Linked DNA regions of Homo sapiens: regions 2, 3, 4, 5, 6 and 7 are each linked to region 1. The links are contacts of gene promoters, found by promoter capture Hi-C in blood cells and fetal thymus (Javierre and others, 2016). All regions are on one chromosome and are shown on one strand. The core of a region is centred on a gene start or on the middle of the fragment in contact, and the rest is flanking DNA. Distances in the headings are between cores, read along the strand shown. Region 1 holds the start of CEBPZ (CCAAT enhancer binding protein zeta). Region 2 overlaps PIRAT1 (PU.1 (SPI1) induced regulator of S100A8 and S100A9 alarmin transcription 1). Region 3 has its middle 24 kb from the start of RMDN2. Region 4 overlaps PIRAT1 (PU.1 (SPI1) induced regulator of S100A8 and S100A9 alarmin transcription 1). Region 5 overlaps PIRAT1 (PU.1 (SPI1) induced regulator of S100A8 and S100A9 alarmin transcription 1). Region 6 has its middle 1.5 kb from the start of RMDN2. Region 7 has its middle 8.0 kb from the start of PIRAT1.

Region 1 (2,739 bases), core at 140-2,639:
CTAAGACAGAAAAGAAAGCAAAATGTAGAGATAGGTGTATATATATGGTACCATTTATGTAAAAAAGATACACCCGTATTTCATACACATAAATGAGTATGTATATGCTTGAAAAGGTATATAGTATCCCTGAAAGATATAAAATGCAGTTGTAAAAATAATTGCTTCCTATCAGGGCAATGGTTATGGCTGAGATAAAAGTGGAAACAATTTGACTTCACTATGTATCTTTTAAAGTTTGCACCACGTGTTTCATGTGTATATATTACCTATTCAAAACTTAAATATACACAAGCACAGAGCAAACTGTGAATCTGCCTATCTCTAACTAACTCCTCCACCTTGAAAGTCCAGTCTCCAAACAAAATAATATTAAAAACAAAGTTAATTTCTGTTCCTTATCTGCTTAAAATCTTCCAGTGGTTTTGCATCAAACTCAGAGCAAAAGCCTGCCCTCTGACCCCTCGGCCCTCCTTTCTTACTATTCTCCCCTTAACTCACTCTGCCTCTGCTACACTGGCATTTTGGCTGCTCATGGAATAGGTTAGGCACTCTTCTGCCTGTCTTTGCATTTGCTGTTCCAACTGACTGGAATGGCAGCTCACTCCTTCCTGTCCTTTAGGATTCTGCTCAAACATTTCCGTGATGTGTTTGTCGATCATCTCATTTAATACTAACGCGCTCCCACTCCTTATCGTCCTTCCTTGTTTTATTTTCTTTTATAGCACTACCCCGCGTCTGCTGTACTATGTGTTTAAAAGTTTGTTTACTGTTTCTCTCCCTTAATTAGGATGCTCCAAAAAAGAGGGCTTCTGGGGCATACAGTGACACGTGCATGTACTCTATGAGAACAGAAATGAAAATTCCAATACCACTGGTGTTCAAAACACTCATACCACAAGGTCAGGACCAAGAAAAGCCACTCTCCGACCTGATGGTGTGATGGTTATACCACGTCAATAAAATCAGAAGATCGCCTACATCCTAAGAATAGCCAGAGAATACAACGTTCAATTCGAAACTTTTCTTTTGTAAACAGCAGTGGAAACCGGCGTGGGAAGCGCACCGAACACATGCTTCAGAGGCTGGGATCTCGGTCCTGGACGCCCGCGCTCTACGCAGCGCGGAAGCGGCGGGGCAGTCAGCCTAGCCACCTTCGGAACTCTCCACGCCTGATCCCGTTCCCCGGAGCCCGCGGCCGTTACCTTGGTGCCTCCGAGCCGTAACACTTCCTCCAGGGAGAACCCATTCTCGGCTTCACTAGTATTATCCTCATCCTCCTCGTCCGGATCTTCTACTGCCTCCTCGGGGCGCCAAGGCCGCTTGGCATGGAACTCCAAAGGCTCCTTGACTGCGGCCATGGCGGGCAAAGCATACGCGCGTGAAACTCAGCCTATTTCCGCTCTGCCAGTGGCGTAATTCCTGTCGGGGCGTGTCTTCTCCCGGAAATGGTCTAAGCCCCAGCTCCTGGCGGAGCGAGCTAGCCTGCGAATTTCAGCATGAGTGTACTGCTGAGGTCAGGTTTGGGGCCGTTGTGTGCCGTGGCGCGCGCAGGTAAGCGTCAGTCCCCTCGAAGCCCGGTTGCCGTGGAAGCCGCGTGGGGCGCCTTCCTCAGCTCTTCAGTTGAGGGTACCGGGGGATCAAGGGCTCGGGGGCTCACTTCCACCTTGAAGGTACCCTGGGCTGGAAACGGGTCCGGTACAAACGCAATAGGGCTGCGTAGTCGTGGGCAAGTGGGTGCTGTCTCTGCGCCCCGTGGGCGTGCTAAGCACAGTAGCCCGCGGTCTGCGGTGGGGCGAGGTTAAGGGTTCACGAAGCTGTTTTGAAAACGCTCAGGCGGCTTGCGCTCGTGAATGGTCAGATTTATCATGGGGTCTGTTTAATTTGTGTTTTTCGCAGCCATTCCTTTTATTTGGAGAGGGAAATACTTCAGCTCCGGGAATGAGCCTGCAGAAAACCCGGTGACGCCGATGCTGCGGCATCTTATGTACAAAATAAAGTCTACTGGTCCCATCACTGTGGCCGAGTACATGAAGGAGGTGTTGACTAATCCAGCCAAGGTATGGGTCGGGTAGCCCGAGGACTAGGCCCTCTCTAGCCGATTTGCGAGGTGCAAGCCAGGAGGGAGAAGCCCGAAGGTTCTCAGCCCAGGCAGTGGGGGTGCCTGCCAGGGGAAGAGCCATTTCTGAGGACCTGGGGACAGATAATTTGTCAGTTGGTCAGGGCTGGCTCACGTCAGAGGCAGTGCCAGTAAAGAGGAGAGGACACGGTCCAAGGGTGTTTAGGAGACAGAATGTAGCTGATTGGATTTATGATGCGGGAAGGATGACTTTCCTACTTGGCTGATGGTGGGTGGTGTGGATTCATTGCTTTGGGAGAAGGAATACGGGAGGAAGGATGGAGAGTTCAGGCTGGTATATGAATTTGAAGTGTGTGGGACTCTTAGGTAGAAATCTCCAACAGGCAGCTGGAAATAGGAATTACTGCCTGGAAAGTCGTCTGTGTTGGAATGGCTTCAGCTGGCATTGGAGACATGTGCTGGGTTTTCTCACATGTGCAGTTGAGAATGCAGTCTGGGTCGTCTTCACTGTTCTAGGATTAGGCACAGTCACAGCTTTCTGACCCACGTTTCCTTGTCTGTTCTACAGAGCCATTTGGTGAAAGCCTATAGTCCTTTATTTTAGAATATTTCATCTTTTGCTGGGTTGAAATATGACCTCTGTGGAATTCTGGGGTTAG
Region 2 (2,700 bases), core at 71-2,570, 600 kb after region 1:
TCCAAAAGCCCCAGGGAAAGGTCCTTCCTTGCCTCTTCCAGCTTTTGCTGGCACCAGGCATTTTTGGCCTGCAGCAGCCTCACTCCAGTCTCTGCCTCCATCTTTACTTAGTCTCTTCCGGGTCTGCAACTTCTTCTGTCTCCTATAAGGAGACACTTGTCATTGGATATAGGACCCACCCTGATAATCCAGGATGTTCTCATCTCTGAGAGCCTCAATGTAATTACATCTGCAAAGACCCTTTTGCCTAATAAGGTCACATTCACAGGTTCCAGGGATTAGGAGATACATGTATCTTTTGGGGACCACCATTCAGTTCACTACAGCTGAGCAGCTGGGATTTGACTCAAGCAGTCCAGCTCCAGCACGTGGCCTCCGACCATCACGCCATGCTCTCTCATGTGGTTACTTTTCACAGGTGTCAGCAAAATGCCTGCTCAATGATCTGAGATTTTTTTTCACAAATCATCACAGAGCTGAAATGCTCATTTTTCTGTGCTGCTACTCTGTCCATGTTCCAGAAAGGCAGCACATTAAGTCTACACCACATCACGCATCCCCTGACAGATGGAGAGAATATCAGCAAATCAGATTGCTTTCTAAAGAAAACAGAATCCAACTTTGCAAATGTTTAAAGCTTGCATATTTTCAAAATTTCAAGCAAAAGTAGAAAACCTCATTACCTCAGATCACGGTTGACAAAACTACCATTGACAAAGAATTATCCTACATGCAATGAAAACCCAATATAAGACAGTGAGTGATTGTCCAAAACGTGGGTGTTAGGTCACTACCCAGACAACAGCAGAGTTGACGGTTCTACCCTAGCTCTCTTTTGATGAGGGAAAACATTATTTTTAAATGAAGCCTGCCACTTCAGTGTAGAAAACATAAAGATGTGGACAGTCACCATTGTCATTTAAAGGGTGAGCTGTATTTCTTCTGAAGTAAAGTGATGAGTCCAGGCAGTACACTCACTCTATCAGATATGATTTGAAAAGCTGAAAAATAAACCTCTGACAATAAGATTTTAGGACAGAAATGCTGCCAGGGCTCGAAGTACATTTCAGAAGAATAAAAAGAAAGTAAACGATGCCAAAGGCCAGACAAACAAAAGGAAAATTCCTACTTCGTTTGTTCTCATGAAATGCCACAGAAAAATAATCTGTTAGGCAGCTCTTCTGGAGTCCAAGTTCTTGCGCTGTGCTCATCTCTTCTTTCTGTTAAAGCTCGGTGCTTTGCAAGCTGTCGTTAAATTGCTTACACGGATGGACGGGGCCAAGATGGTTTTCAGTCTAAAGCCAGTGAGAGTCTCAAGGCAGATTCTGAAGGCCTTGAACCACCTGAGCCTGGCCAGATGGATTCTTCCTTTCACTGTTGTGACCATTGCTTTGGTGTCAGAACCCTATGGGAGAGCTGAGTCCATGACCAGAATCCTCATGCCTTTCACAACTCCAATTAGCCAAGAGCATGGCACGGAGCAGAGGTGCTGGTGGGAGAAAACAACACATAGGTGAAAAACCTCGGGATTAGGCATTTCAAACAAGAGGCATTCATTTTGCCCGACACCCAGAGTTGCCCCATAAACAAGCCAGAAACTCAACCAGGCGGTGACGGAACAAGGAATGGATGAGTGACAAACTGGGCTGTTGATTCTGTTGTAACTGAGGCTTGACTGTATTAACAAGCATGCAGTGATTAAACAGACCAGCACCAGAATTTTAGCAGCTACCTTGAAGCCTGCTGACTGACACTGTCCCTGGAGCCCCTGTTATAATGAGGTCCTTGTGATAACTTACTCCCTTGGATAGAGTCCAAGACAGGCACGTGCCCTGTGGAATTCCACACTGTAACCAACCATACTTCAGAGAGATTCCAGAATAATGATGGTATTGCTTATTTAGGCTGAAGGTTATCTGCTCCTCCTCCTCCAGATCCCTGCCAGCCAAGGGAAGAGCATCTCATTGGTGTCAGATGACAAGGGTCTTGTTCCCTTTACTGGAATAAGCTTCTTATGTCATACAGACTCTGGAAGTCCTGAAAAGCCATCTGTCTTGGCCTTTACTTTAGGAAAGAAAGTATCATAACCTGCCACAGCAGTGGGGACAGCTGAAGCCGGGGGTTACTATTCGCCCTTGTTACTATTCATGGAGGCTCTTAGGGAAATGACCAAAAAGCTCTTTATGGCTCTTGCAATTAATCCTGAAATTCTGGTTGTCACTTGTGGGTAGAAACATATGGTTTACAAATGGGTTGATGATTATTATTTCAAGGAAAAACTAAAACATTATAATGAGAGTTATAACATAATGGTGGGACAGTATAAATAGGGAGAGAATTTGTAGTGTTTTCTTGTTCGTTTTGTTACATGAATAGACAGCTAGGGGAAAATGGCATTCTATGGGGAACTGATGGGATTTATTTAATATTTATTTAAATAAATTTATTTATTTATTTATTTAGACACCTCTTTTTTCCCGTCTAAGTTATAAACTAATTAAGAGATGGACAAAGAATAAGGTAAAGGAAGGTCAAAATATTACCTTGGGCAGGGTGCAGTGTCTCACACCTGTAATCCCAGCACTTTGGGAGGCCAAGGCAGGAGGATCACTTGAGTTCAGGAGTTTAAAATAGCAACATAAGAAGAATCTGTCTCTCCAAAAAAGAAAAAGAAAAGAAAAAAAGGAGGTGAGGTGGCAC
Region 3 (2,711 bases), core at 172-2,671, 670 kb after region 1:
GGTTTCACCATGTTGGCTAAACTGGTCTCAAATGCCTGACCTCAAGTGATCCACCTGCCTCAGCCTCCCAAAGTGCTGGGATTACAGACACTAGCTCCTACACCCAGCTGGAAGAAAAATGTTTTAATTTGGGTTATCTTCCTTCTATGTTTCCACTGGATTTAGAAATATTGGACAGGAAGAATCTGGCAAATGAGAATTCAGATAGTATGATTAGACATTCATCACAATTATTCAACAAATTTTAGTTTACTTGTAATAATCTCTGCCTTAGTCTGGTGAGGCTGTGATATGGTTTGGCTGTGTCCTCACCCAAATCTCATCTTGAATTCCCACATGTTGTGAGAGGGGCCTGGTGGGAGGTAATTGAATCACGGGGTCAGGTCTTTCCTGTGCAGTTCTCGTGATAGTGAATACGTCTCATGAGATCTGATGGCTTTACAAGGCAGAGTGTCCATGCACAAGCTCTCTCTTTGCCTGCTGCCATCCAAGTAAGATGTGACTTGTTCCTCCTTGCCTTCTGCCATGATTGTGAGGCCTCCCCAGCCATGTGAAACTGTAAGTCCATTAAACTTCTTTCTTTTGTAAATTGCTGAGTCTTGGGTATGTCTTTACTGGCCGTGTGAAAAATAGACTAATACAGGCTGCCATAACAAAAATATCATAGCTGGATGCCTTAAACAACAAACAGTTATCTCTCACAGTTCTGAAGGCTGTGAAGTCCAAAATCAAGGTGCCAGTGAGATGGGATAGTTTCCTTGACCCCCTTTGTGGGCGGGAACTGGAGTGGCTTGTTTCACTCAGCCCATCACTGGCCGCTCCTCATGCGAGAAGGAGCGTGGGAGCGTGCGAGCAAGCGAGTGCAGGAACGGGAGGGAACGAGCGCTAGAACAGGCCGGTCACTCCTCTGGCGGGAGCAGGCTCTGTGTGGGCCCCATAACAGCATCCAAGCCCCTGCCCTCTGGGCACCTGGGTTCTTGTTCGGCATCCAGGACATATCGGGTCACACGAACAGATTGAAGGGTAGCATATGCGGAGGATTTTACTGGGTGATGGCTCTCAGTGGGATGGGAGTTAGAAAGGGGATGGTGCGGGAAGAAGGTGATCTTTCCCTGAATCCACACCGTCTGAAATTAGCCGCCATCTATAGATAGTCTGCAACACCCAGCCACTTATATCCCTGACATTCAGCAACTGGTATCCCCAGCGCTCAGCTGCTTGCATCCCCAGCCGTTTGCATCAGCCGCCTTGTGTTGCTCTGCCAGCTGAAGTCTTTTTATGGGCAGAGGATAGGGTTATGGCAGGCCAAAACAACAACATTTGGGCAGAAAAATGGGGTCAGCTGTTTTCAGTTAGGGCTGAGGTTCCAGGCTTGAGGGTGGGGTTTAGCTGGGAGCCCAGCCATTCTGTATCACCAGCAGATTTGATGTCTGGTAAGGGCCCACTTCCTGGTTCACAGACTGCTGTCTTTTTACTGTAACCTTATATGGCAGAAGGGGAGGTGAGCTCTCCAGGTCTCTTTTATAAGGGCACTAATACCATTCATGAGGGCTCCACCCTCACGGTCTAATCAATTACCAAAGGCCTCGCCTCCTAACCCCATCACATTGGGAGTTAGAATTTCAACAAATGAAGTTAGGTAGGGGATATACAAGCACTACACTCTCAATGCTTTGACTCTCTAGATTTAAAAATGTTTCCTCTGTTTTTTTTTTTTAAATCATACTCTCCCAGGCCCACTTTCTTTCCTTACAGTTTTATTGTGTCTACCTTCTGTAACACCCTCAAGACAATATTCCAGAGAGCTCTCTTCTTTCAAAAGAGCTTCCCCACCTGGTTGCTATTTTCTCCTGTTCTCTTTCTCTTTCCACTCCTCCAACCCTGTTGAAGGCATCTCAAACCACAGGCTTTTATACAAACCACAGAATACATGAGAATTTATATTTTTAAAAAATCTTGCCTGAATATGCCAGCAATTGGCAGTTACTGTTAAGGTATTCTTAGACTCCATAATACATGAACATTGAGTATTAACTTGAACCTAAAAATTAGGATACCGTGATTGAATAGACAATAATATTGCTTTAAAATTCTTCAGTGCAAGGTATCTCTTAATATAATTATGTTAATGTGTTATAGTATATATAGCATGAAGCACTAAAGACAGTATGTGGAAAGATTACAGAGAGATTGAAGAAGACATTGTCCCATATATATACCTCCCATGTGCTTTACATCCACTGTTGTGTATTTCAGAGTTCTACATCTTGTCTTGGCTACACATTCCCTCCAACTCTCCCTTGGTTGGTGTGGCAGACTCTGTGAGCAAATTAACCCAAAACCATTCCAAACCTCCTTCTCTCTTTCATTCTCCTACTCTTGAGGTCAGAAAGCCAGGTACCTGGTTTCCAGCTTCTCTTGCAGCTGGGAAAGGCCATGTGTTCTATTTCCGGCAAATGAGTTGAAAGGATAAGTTTCATGGGGGGTTTCTGAGATAGCTTTTCTTTCCTGACAATTGGCACCATGTCTTTCTCTCGCTTCTTTCTGCCTTAAGCAAGAAAAGCACTAGGACAAAAAGCCAAAGCTGAGACTAATACAACTGAAAGACAGAGTCTGGCTTTTGATGGCATCATTGATTGATGAATCAATGCCAGCAACCACTTGCCTCTTTTTAAAAACGACTGTTAGACTATCTTGCTGTTGTTACTTGT
Region 4 (2,700 bases), core at 98-2,597, 620 kb after region 1:
GGGGTAACATATATTTGAACCACTAATTTGAGAGAAGGTTAGGCCTGGGATTTGCATTTTGCAGGATGCTTTTATTCACTCATAGCCAGATGAGTTTCCCTATGATCATCTGGGCCACTGGCAAAATGTTTTCTGTTTTTTTGTTTTGTTTTGTTTTGTTTTTGTTTTGAGATGGAGTTTCACTCTGTCACCCAGGCTGGAGTGCAGTGGTGCGATGTTGACTCACTGCAACCTCCACCTCCCTGGTTGAAAGAATTCCCCTCCCTCAGCCTCCCAAGTAGCTGGGATTACAGGCACATGCCACCACGCCCAGATAATTTTTTTGTATTTTTAGTACAGACGGTGCTTCAGCATGTTGGCCAGACCAGTCTCGAACTCCTGACCTCAGGCAATCCGCCCGCCTCGGCCTCCCAAAGTGCTGGGATTATAGGCATGAGCCACCATGCCCAGCAGGTACAATGTTTTCTAGTCTAACCTTTCAGTGGTGTCCTTTGAGAGTCCAGGCTTTACGTAGCCATCTCAGCACCTTTTGTAGACACGCAATCTTGTCTCTGTCCCTCCATAGCCATTAAAATCCAAGCCAGGAAAGTATCTGACCAACTCCTGACGCCTCCCCACACTGGCTGAAATATCAACACAGAAGCTTGCCTTCCTAGTTTGAATTTTCTTTTTTCCTTTGGCACCCAAGTATTTCCCATTCTTTCCTGAAACTTGAAGCAGAAATAAAAGAACTTCCACAATGTTCCATTTCATATCTACTCACCTGCCACAACTGTGCTCTACCTTTCCTCTCATTACTATGGATGAACCATCTGTGCCTATAGGGCCATTCCTTATACTTGTACACCAGCTCCCATTCCCTCTCACCTGTTCAAGGACACCACTCTTGTAATTCTCCGTTCTCTCCCTCTCTCTGTCTCTCTCTTTCTCCTCTCTCTGTCTCTGTCCTCCTCTCTGTCTCTCTCTTTCTCCTCTCCCTCTCTCTTTCTCCTCTCTCTGTCTCTCTCTTTCTCCTCTCCCTGTCTCTCTCTCTCTCACTCTCTCTCTCTCTCTCTCTCTCACTCTCTCTCTCTCTCTCCTGCACTAATTTTCCTCTTGTTCTTGGATTACTCCTATCAGCATGCTGGTATTTCTATTATTATTTTTTTTTTTTCTGAAAAAAAAAAAAAAAAAAAAAGAAAGAAACCTCAGTTTATCTTTCCACCCATCTAGTGTCCCACTTCTCTTGTTACAGAAAATTTCTCAAAGTTTTTGCCTCTAATTCCTCTCCTTCATTCCCCTTTTACACTCATTCCAATCAAACCTTTGTCCTCACCATTCCACCAAAAGTACTCTTTCAAGTTCACCAATGACCTCCACATTGCTAATTCAATTCTCGGTCATTATCTTACTTGACCTAGTAGCATAATGTGAAGTAATAGATGATTCCCTTCCCCTGGAAATCCTTTAATCTTGCTATGTTTAGGACTCTGCATTTTGTTTGTTTTCCTTCTTTCACATCAGTCACTTCTCAGTCTCATTTGCTATTTATTCCTTTTCTCCCCAAACTCTGGAGTACCTCAGAGTTCAGTCCTTGGATGTCTTCTCTTTTCTAGCCCTATTCAGTTTACTGATGATCCCATCCAGTCTGAAGCGTTTAAAGGCCCTTTGTAAGTTAACAACTCCCAAATGTATACCTGTAGCTTGTATCTCACTCCTAAGTTTCAAATTTATATATCAAACTGTCCACTCAACATCTCCAGTGGGCTGTGTAGTAGACTTTTCAAATATATCTTGTCCAAAAATGACCTCCTGCTATTTCTTATCAATCATGCTCTTCCCCATCTTAGTTAATGGCAGCTCCATCCTTCTGATAGTTCAGGCAAAAACCTTGGAGTCACTGTTGACTTCTTCCCCTCCCCTTGGATCTGAAAATAAAGCTCTGGAATCAGGGCAGTTGTTCCACTCAAATGAATAAAATGGTATGAACACAGAACAAAGGGAGCCTATGTTCTGTTAGGAAGGGGTAAGAGAACAAATAAGTGTGACATGAAACTGAACATGCCACATGGGAAGCTTAAAATGCTATATGGGTTGGAAGGTGGGAGAGCTAATGCCTAGAAATAGAGATTCTGATAGGCATCTAAAAGGCACAGGCTTCTGAGATGTTCTGAGATGTTCCTGAAAGTTGTGTATGATTGGATTACTTACAGTGGGGGTGAGTGGGAATTCCAGGCAGAAGGAGCAACTGAGCAAGACCCACATCTTCACAGTTAGCTCTGCCTTCCCCTGGAGTAGGACTCTTTCTGCCTACCCTGGCAATATGTCTCCTGGGAGCCCTTCGTAATGCCTGGACCCCAATTCCACCCCATCTTACCCGCCAACATAGATCAAATCACAGTTGCTCTGTTTCACCAACATTAACTTCCAAATTGTCTCTCACAGGCTTCCCGCTCTCAATTCATGTTACCCCCATCCCAGTCCACACTTCCTCTCCTATGTTGTGTCTCATTGCCTATCTCTTGGCCTTTGGGCTGCCTCCCCCTCTGTCCATTCTGTTCACTGCAGCCAGATTGACGGTAACAGCGATGATGACTCTTTTGAACAACATGTAAGAGCCTATTCTGCACCACGCCTTGCTCTCAAGGAGGCTTGTAATCAAGAAAAAAAAAAAAAAAAAAAAAAAACTTGGAAACATCTACAGGATACAGATGTTTCTAT
Region 5 (2,700 bases), core at 38-2,537, 630 kb after region 1:
TCTCACATCCTTTATTTCCCTGGTCTCCTGCCACTATTCTAGTCCAGGTCCTCATCACAATTTGTCTGGATTATTGCAATGACCTCCTCGTCAGTCTTCCTGTCTCTAGTTTCCCTTTGCTTTCAATCCATTCTCCATGATGCCACTGGACTCAGGGCTTTGTCTTTGTCTTAACATGCCACTTGACATGCTCTAGCTCTGTGCAGAGCTCTGCTTCCCACTGCCTTCTGGGACAAGTGCAAATCCTTAGTCCAGCAGTCTAGGTCCTCGGGTTCCAGCCCACCTGCCCAACCTCCTCTCCCTCCATTGCTTAAAGTGCCAGCCAGGTAGAGGTGCTCATTGTCTATTCCCAGCAAACCTGCCCTCTCTGTCCATTGGTCCTCATGGCCACCCTCCACCTGGCTTGTCCCTACAAATCTTCCCATTTCTCTCTGTCTATTCAAACCCAAGCTCTATTATGGTTCTATCCCCTAACGCGTCTCCAACTGGAGAGCCAGCCCATCCTGGTCTAATAGAGTGGCTTTCTTATATTGCTTATTCTATTTCAACAGAAACTTCCTGGAGCTGAAAAGTAACTGGACTCAAATAGAAAATATATATATATATATCAGGAATAGAGGAATTTCAGGTACCAAACCTATGGTAGAGGAGCTACTTAGAGGCCAGAGGGCCACATAGATGACGGCATACTCAAACCTGGCTCTGTGTTCACACCGCTTTCATCTCTGGAAGGTGGCAAAGAAGCTTGTGCTGGCTCTTCCAGTTACCCCAAGGCCATCATGCCCCATCTTTTCTCCAATCAGAAGACATTTGTATCCACACGTGCACATTCCTTTATTTTGCTGCTTTGGATAACTTTTAAACTATATATTGTTCCCCACTTGTTTGGAGGCAAAGGTATAAAAAGGAGATGGGAGCAGATCAAGAGAGATATATTTGTTTTTAATTCTTTTCCGGTATATCAGTTAAAGTCCTCTGAGGAAGACAGAAACCACTCTAGATATTTCAACCAGGGAATCACTTCACAGATTATAGAGAGATTAGCATCTTTAGTAACCCAGGACCACTGCTGAGACTGGAGGAACATGGGGAGGAAGTAGCGTGACCAGAGACTGGTCGTCAGGGCCATGGGGCAGTGGCTGCTTAGTGGGAGCTGGGATCATGGAGGAAAGGGTTTCCCTGCAGGATCCACAGCCAAGAAGGAAACACAGCCACTGTAAGTGAGGCCACAGGAAGGGGGAAGAAGGCAAGAAATGACCACGATTCGCCCCCTCTGCACCCCCAGTGCTCCCTCAGGGCCCCCCATTGGTGTACACTGCCTGAAGGCTGGAAGGAGAGGGGCCCTGGAAAGAACAGGAATGAATCTGGGGGCACTGGCAGGCAGGCAGGCAGCACATCCTCCTCCTACACAGCTGCCACCACGCCCACACCTCCCTCCTCCTCATCCTGGCAGGCCCCTGGCCCTCCCAGATGACCATCAGACATCTCTAACATTCCCTCCTGACCTTGACCTCCACTGCATCAGCACTGTCCTTGCTGCCCCAACCCTCTCTGGCCTCTCTCTTGAGCTGCCAAACACTGAGGAGAACAGTCGCAGGGCTGTGCTGACTGAAGCCACTGACACGGGCTATCGAGCCTGCAGATGACCCTCACGGCTGCTGGACAATCCTTTGGACAAGATTCATGAATTTTCAGGCATCTCTCAGATTGGCTCCCCAAGTCTTTCCCATTCTCCTCAAGTCCCCACCCAAGCCTCATTCCCTCAGGTTGTCCTCTCACTCTCCTGAGACACCGAGCCATAGACATGACCTTTCTCCATGTCTCTCCTTTTGAAGCTTCAGTCATTCATTTTTTCCTCCTGTCTCTGAGGATGACACCCTCATCTTTCTTGTCCTGGGCCCCCTCTGTAACTTTGCTCCAATCATCCTCCCTTCTGATTTTTTGTTTTAAAGCTTCCCTCTCCCTTGGCTTTGTTCTCTCTACCTAGAAGTGAGCACAGGTGCTCCGTTGCTCACAAGGCAACAAGAAAAAGTCCTTTTACCTCTTTGACCCCCTCTCTTTACCTTCAAATGTATTCAAAGAGCAAGAGTAACCCACCATCTGTTTTTCATGGCTTCATGATTGTCCATTCCAATGGCTTTGATCCACCTTTCTTATCTGTGACTGTCCCAGTATTGGACTCCATTAACAACCTCCCCAACCCCACCCTCTTTCTGGAAAGGTCTCCCTCAATTTCTGTGAGGTTGTGCTCCGTTGCTCTCTGCCCCGCATTCTCTCCAAAAGCTCCTCCATCACTTCTTCCCGGCTCCTCTCTCTCCTCCTGTGCAAACACATAGGGGTCTCCCTACTCTCTGCCCTCAGCCCTCACCATGTAATCCCTGCACTTGGCCTTTCTGTCGTCTCTCCTCTCCTGCCCCATCTCTGTGTAGCATTCTCTGGATCTGTCCCCTGCTCCAAGCCTTGGGGACAAAAAGCTGGTCCCAAATATTCAACCAGCTGGCAATCTGATGCCTTCTGCTGCCACAAATCTCTGTACCCCAAACGACACTTATTCCTTCCCATAATCCCTCAGCCAGATCCTACCACTGACTTCACACTTTTCCTCGTGTTCTGCCTCAACATTTTATGTGGCCTTTGACTCTTCCGTGCCCACCTCCAGTCAGTCACCGAGCCAAGAAAATCCAAGAAGACAGACCCCCT
Region 6 (2,700 bases), core at 175-2,674, 690 kb after region 1:
CTATACATTTCCTCATGCTTTTCCCTCAAATGTACATACTACTTTCAAATAGTTATCTAATATAGAGGGTGTGCACCATGCCAGGTTCCCAAGATACAAAGATAAATGCTACCATCCTTGAAGATGTTCACAGCCTCACAAACACACAGTCACTGGCAAGCAGTAATTATATAGTGTACACCAGAGAGGTTTGCTGTAAGCTAGCAGGGAGGCATTTTGTATTCATTGAAACTCCTGGTCCTTCCATAAGTTTTGATGGGGCATGGATGAATACTTCTTATGGGGAAGGAGAGAGTGTGTAGCTTCTCAAGGGAAAGAGGTTGAAGTGGTTGAATTGGTTTTGGACGGGTGGCAAGCAACAGGATATTCCAGGCACAAGGAACAGGATAAAAAGGATACAGCTTGTGGAGAGACGATCAGTAGCTTAGCTAGTGCTGAAGTGTAGAATGATGTCTGGTGGAAGTAGCGGAGAAAAGCTGGAAAAGTAGGTTGGGGCAAATCGTGAAGGGTCTGTACCCACTCCTCCCAAATGATTGTCATGCCGTACTGGTTTGATGAATAACAGCAACTCTGAGATTCTTAGTATGTTCTGGTTTTTCCTTCAGATATTCCTTTTAGACTGACATTCCTAGTAGTGGGGAGGGGAATCATTTCTGCTTTTTTATGTCACCCCTGCAACAGTACCTGGCAAAGATAGCGCCTGTCTTTGCTATTTAGTTACAGCTTTGCCAAGGTCAATGGTTGTCACTGTCCCTGAGTTTCTACCTTTCAGATAATTTTTACTCATCAAGGAATAGAAACAAATGTATTGGAAAGGAGCAAGTGTGACATAGTCTATGTCCTGAACCTGAAGATCAAGTCAGTATCAGCTGCCATCTTCCTCTTGGAATAGACTGGTAAGGCCTTGTTCACAGCCCATACGTCACATTTTTATTGAAAGCCTCTTCTGTGCAATGTGCTGGGGATGCAGCAGTGAACAACTCAGTGGGCTCCTGGAAAAGCTTAAATTTTGTTTTAAATACTGAAAAGCTCCTTTTAAGTATTAGCGAAGAGACAGTCATGTTTCTTTGGTATCTAAATCTTGTTAAAAGAGAAAATTGTTTTGCATGATCGGTTTATATCATATTGTATTCTAGTTAAATAAAGCTAGCATTATATTGCAAGATTGCTGCAAACCATAATAAATAGGAGTGAAGTGGGTTTGTAGAAGGTAATATTTTACTAGTTCCAAATCTGAGAGGTTAAAGATTAATCTGCTCTTTTTCCAAATACAACTTAGGTTTTTGCTCTTGTTTTTTGAGACAGAGTCTCATTCTGTCCCAGACTGGTGAGCAGTGGCCCGATCTCGGCTCACTGCAACTTCTGCCTCTGAGGTTTAAGCAATTCTCATGCCTTAACCTCCCGAGCAGCTGGGACTACAGAAGTGCGCCACCACACTCGGCTAATTTTTGTATTTTTAGTAGAGATGGTGTTTCATCATATTGGCCAGGCTGGTCACGAACTCCTGGCCTCAAGTGATCCGTCCGCCTCAGCCTCTCAAAGTGCTGGGCTTACAGTCGTGAGCCACTGCGCCCTGCTACAAATTACTTTTAATAAAATGACCATGGCCAGGCTTACTTATTCTTCAATGCGGCTTGCCTGAAGCTCAAAAAATCATCTTAAAGAGCCTATAGAATCCCTGAATCCCTATCCGTAAACAGTAGTATATGGATTGCAAAACAAGCCTTCTGGATTCTTCATGGCTTTATGGGTGTTGTCTGCTGTTGCTGTTTTGAGAAAGAGTGTACCCATTTTTAATTCTGCTCAATATATTGGTGGGAAGTTTAGAGATTAATGTTATGCAAACCTAAGCTTGAGGCAGTAATACTCAAGGTGCGGACAATACAGAAGCAGTGTATGTACTGTTTTGTTTTTGTTTTTGAGACGCTCTATCACCCAGGCTGGAGTGCGGTGGCGCGATCTCGCCTCACTGCAACCTCTGCCTCCGGGTTCAAACGATTCTCCTGCCTCATCCTCCCAAGTAGCTGGGATTACAGGCGTCCACCACCACGCCCGGCTAATTTTTTGTATTTTTAGTAGAGACAGGGGTTTCGCCACGTTGGCCATACTGGTCTCGAATTCCTGACCTCAGGTGATCCGCCTGCCTCAGCCTCCCAAAGTGCTGGGATTACAGGCGTGACCCACCGCGCCCGGCCCAGTTTTTAAGAGCGTATTTAGCAGAATTAGTTTCATTATACAAACCACAGAAAGCTGGGTAAAACCTTAAATGTCAGGCATCTGAAAAAACAGCGGCTTTCATCTAAAGGCAACTCGGAATGGCGGGGAGAAGGAAGAGGCTGTCAAAATTGCTCATTAAAAGAAAACGTGAGATAAAGCTATGAACACGGGGCTGCAGATATCAGTAATTAGTGCAAGGCGTCTGCCTTTAATTCAGTCGTGAGGAGTAAAGTGCAAGGTTGTGCCTAGAAAGGGCACAGAAAAAGGTTTAACTAGGGGAGAGGGAGTGGGTTTGAGAGCCGGAACGAAGCGAGCTGGCGGTGGGCGTGCGGAGTGGCAGCAACGCGAGAGGGAACGCGCTGGGGCTAGCGCGGAGGCCCAGAGCCCAGGCGGGGGAAAAGGTGCCGACCGGCTTCGAAGGGAGGCGACGGCCGAGACACACGGTCCGGCGCGAGCCAGGCGCCCCGCGACGTGCAATTTTAT
Region 7 (2,700 bases), core at 157-2,656, 650 kb after region 1:
ATCTGTAGCCAAGAAGGTAACTCTAGTACCACTTTCTTTTCTTTTCTTCTTTTCTTTTTTTTTTTTTTTTTTTTTTTTAAGACAGAGTCTTGCTCTGTCACCCAGGCTGGAGTGCAGTGGCGTGATCTCAGCTCACTGCGACCTCTGTCTCCTGGGTTCAAGCGATTCTCCTGTTTCAGCCTCCTGAGTGGCTAGGATTACAGGTGCACGCCACCATGCCCAGCTAATTTTTGTATTTTTAGTAGAGATGGGGTTTCACCGTTTGGGTCAAGCTGGTCTCAAACTCCTGACCTCGTGATCTGCCTGCCTCGGCCTCCTAAAGTGCTGGGATTACAGGTGTGAGCCACTGCACCTAGCCTCTAGTACCACTTTCTAATGACTCCATAACCTGACATATTCAGGAAATGGCTAATGATCTAGGAGACCAACTCAAGAACAAATGAAGCAGTCAAGTAGTTTTCTTTTTGAGAGGAAAGAGGGTGCAATTACTAATTAAACTAGGACAACAGGCATAAATCCACACAGTTCAGGCAAACCATGATGAATGATCAATCTATTCAAGAACCTCAATCTCAGTATGTGGCACAGAAGTAAACTCATCAACTTCGTTTCAAACCTTATCTTTCTCCTATATTCTCTATAGTATTTACTAATATCACCATCCATCTAGGTATCCAAGCCAGAAACCTGAAAGTAGTCTCTGACATGTTCTTTCTACCCCTTCATCCCCATATCCTCATCCTACTCCTTCAACTTGGCCTCATGAATATTTCTTGGATGTATTTGTTTCTCTATATCCTACTCTAACTGCTCTGGTACAGGCTCCCACCTTTCTAGCTGGTCTATAATGCTAACAAAGTGCTGTCTGTTTCAACTTGATGAATACACACATATTGCCGACTTGGTGTAAAGGAAAAATTGTGTTTAGCAACTTAATCACCATGAAACACAACTAGCTCTGAACCATATACAACTGGGAAGGACTATATTATAAATAACTATGATGAAGAGTTTAAATTGCATGTATGAATATGGTCTGGTGTTGTAATTCCAATGACAGGAAAACATTATGGAATGGTTACCCAGCTTAAGGAGCTTGTGCCAGTGACTGTTAATTAATTTCTAGTTTTCTTCATTGAGAAAATCCTGTTAAAAACCTTTTACAAGTCAGCCGAACTACACAGTGTGCTTAGTGATATAGTAAAAACTGAATGACCTCACAGCCAATATGTTCAATTCAAATCATTTTCTTTATTATGTGTTAATATGGATACTGATCCAAACAATAACAATCGTTTCTTGATGAGGTGGGATGGTCATTGAAAGGAAATGTTCTGTCAAGTCAAGGATGTTTGAACTATGACATGAAGTCATAGTTATGTTTCTGCAAGATAAGAAATCAGTTTAGTCCTAACTTTTGCAGATATGAAACGGACAGTCAGACTTGCTTACTTGTTTGATGTCTTCAATATTTTTAATGATCATGGTATTTCCATGCAAGGAAGGGAAGCAGCATGCTCTTCAAAGGTAGACAAAGGGCAAACACAAAAGTTAGGAGCTTGGAATCAGAGTTTCTACATATTGGGATGACAATAGTTACCATACAGTTACTATAATAATCTCATTAGAGCACACCTGAGGAAAGTAATTGTCACGCATCTTATGCATTTTATAGAATGTTTTCAATATATCCATCCAAAAGAGTCATACACAGGAAATTCATGTATGTAAAATCTATTTCTTTTATTAAATGATAGTTGAAATATTCCACTGTAACAAGTAAAGAAAATATTCGAACTATTTTTTTTCTTTTTTGAGATGGGGTCTCTCTGTCACCCAGGCTGGAGTGCAATGGCATGATCTCGGCTCACTGCAACCTCTGCCTCCCAGTCAAGCGATTCTCCTGCCTCAGGTTCCCGAGTAGCTGGGATTACAGGCACCCACCACCACACCCAGCTAATTTTTTTGTTTTTTTAGTAGAGACGGGGTTTCACTATGTTGGTCAGGCTGGTCTCAAACTCCTGACCTCAGGTGATCCACCTGTCTTGGCCCCCCAAAGTGCTGGGATTACAGGCGTGAGCCACCACACCCGGCCCATTTTTAAATTAATTTTGATTGATGTTTAATGTTCAAAATGTCAGTAGAAGGTACACATAATTCATAAATAAATAGGCCTATACTGGCAATGTGGGCCCCAGTAGTTTTTGCTGATTGAGGTGTGCTATCATCAAAATTTGGAGTCTCTTGATTTAGAAGATAGAAATATCAGAATATTTTAGCTGATGTGATTAAAAATTTGATTTCATTCTTTAATTTCCCCTTAGTTGAGTCCTTCTGATTATGTTCTTCCATATGTCTATATGAAAAGAGAACGTTAAAGATACAGACTTTGAATCACAGTTCCAGACTGATGATCATGCTTTCTCATGATAAATTAATAAAGTGGTTTCTGATTACGACTCACTTTGCCATATAGTAAGTACAGAAAATTGTAAACAGTCCAGTCCATTTTTTCTCACTAAGAAGAGTAGTTGACATTTGGTGTTGACCTCCGTCTCCTACACTTGGTCTCTAGCCTGAGTTGGTCTCTCAGACTCTGATGAATCTGACGCCTTACCTGTGGGGATCTTGGTCAGGAACCCCTCAGTAAAGCACCTGCCACTGAGGGTCTTCTTTTGAACCAGCAGTTCTCAGACTGTA

Evidence for each region. Contacts are between HindIII fragments. The CHiCAGO score rates a contact against its expected background, and 5 or more counts as called.
Region 2: a contact is called between a fragment that was not itself captured here and the fragment with the promoter of CEBPZ in region 1, in 4 of 17 cell types (naive B cells, neutrophils, total B cells and 1 more). The highest score is 5.9, in naive B cells.
Region 3: a fragment that was not itself captured here is called in contact with the fragment with the promoter of CEBPZ in region 1 in 1 of 17 cell types (M1 macrophages); the score reaches 5.1 in M1 macrophages.
Region 4: a fragment that was not itself captured here is called in contact with the fragment with the promoter of CEBPZ in region 1 in 4 of 17 cell types (activated CD4 T cells, naive B cells, total B cells and 1 more); the score reaches 7.6 in activated CD4 T cells.
Region 5: a contact is called between a fragment that was not itself captured here and the fragment with the promoter of CEBPZ in region 1, in 2 of 17 cell types (endothelial precursors and naive B cells). The highest score is 5.9, in endothelial precursors.
Region 6: a contact is called between a fragment that was not itself captured here and the fragment with the promoter of CEBPZ in region 1, in 4 of 17 cell types (total B cells, fetal thymus, activated CD4 T cells and 1 more). The highest score is 6.2, in total B cells.
Region 7: a fragment that was not itself captured here is called in contact with the fragment with the promoter of CEBPZ in region 1 in 10 of 17 cell types (activated CD4 T cells, neutrophils, fetal thymus and 7 more); the score reaches 8.7 in activated CD4 T cells.

What each region holds. Positions count from the first base shown.
Region 1 is chr2:37,230,207-37,232,945 of GRCh38, forward strand. It overlaps CEBPZ (CCAAT enhancer binding protein zeta), which reads right to left and starts at 1,390. Exons shown (of 16, transcript NM_005760.3): 1 at 1,206-1,390. The coding sequence starts at 1,361. It overlaps NDUFAF7 (NADH:ubiquinone oxidoreductase complex assembly factor 7), which reads left to right and starts at 1,452. Exons shown (of 10, transcript NM_144736.5): 1 at 1,452-1,554; 2 at 1,900-2,060. The coding sequence starts at 1,500. RefSeq lists enhancers at 735-1,934, 892-1,341. The HindIII fragment of the contact is 13,102 bases long and covers 1-2,739 here.
Region 2 is chr2:37,826,390-37,829,089 of GRCh38, forward strand. It overlaps PIRAT1 (PU.1 (SPI1) induced regulator of S100A8 and S100A9 alarmin transcription 1), which reads right to left. Exons shown (of 4, transcript NR_110012.1): 3 at 2,544-2,649; 4 at 1-1,489. Among named protein-coding and RNA genes, the nearest start is that of PIRAT1, 48 kb to the right of the region's middle. The HindIII fragment of the contact is 1,371 bases long and covers 636-2,006 here.
Region 3 is chr2:37,899,611-37,902,321 of GRCh38, forward strand. No RefSeq gene overlaps it. Among named protein-coding and RNA genes, the nearest start is that of RMDN2, 24 kb to the right of the region's middle. The HindIII fragment of the contact is 3,778 bases long and covers 1-2,711 here.
Region 4 is chr2:37,845,436-37,848,135 of GRCh38, forward strand. All of the region lies in intron 2 of PIRAT1 (PU.1 (SPI1) induced regulator of S100A8 and S100A9 alarmin transcription 1), which reads right to left. Among named protein-coding and RNA genes, the nearest start is that of PIRAT1, 29 kb to the right of the region's middle. The HindIII fragment of the contact is 1,412 bases long and covers 642-2,053 here.
Region 5 is chr2:37,861,559-37,864,258 of GRCh38, forward strand. All of the region lies in intron 2 of PIRAT1 (PU.1 (SPI1) induced regulator of S100A8 and S100A9 alarmin transcription 1), which reads right to left. Among named protein-coding and RNA genes, the nearest start is that of PIRAT1, 13 kb to the right of the region's middle. The HindIII fragment of the contact is 1,091 bases long and covers 743-1,833 here.
Region 6 is chr2:37,922,472-37,925,171 of GRCh38, forward strand. It overlaps a transcript of RMDN2 not described here. Among named protein-coding and RNA genes, the nearest start is that of RMDN2, 1.5 kb to the right of the region's middle. RefSeq lists a silencer at 2,631-2,700. The HindIII fragment of the contact is 850 bases long and covers 1,000-1,849 here.
Region 7 is chr2:37,882,497-37,885,196 of GRCh38, forward strand. No RefSeq gene overlaps it. Among named protein-coding and RNA genes, the nearest start is that of PIRAT1, 8.0 kb to the left of the region's middle. The HindIII fragment of the contact is 4,050 bases long and covers 1-2,700 here.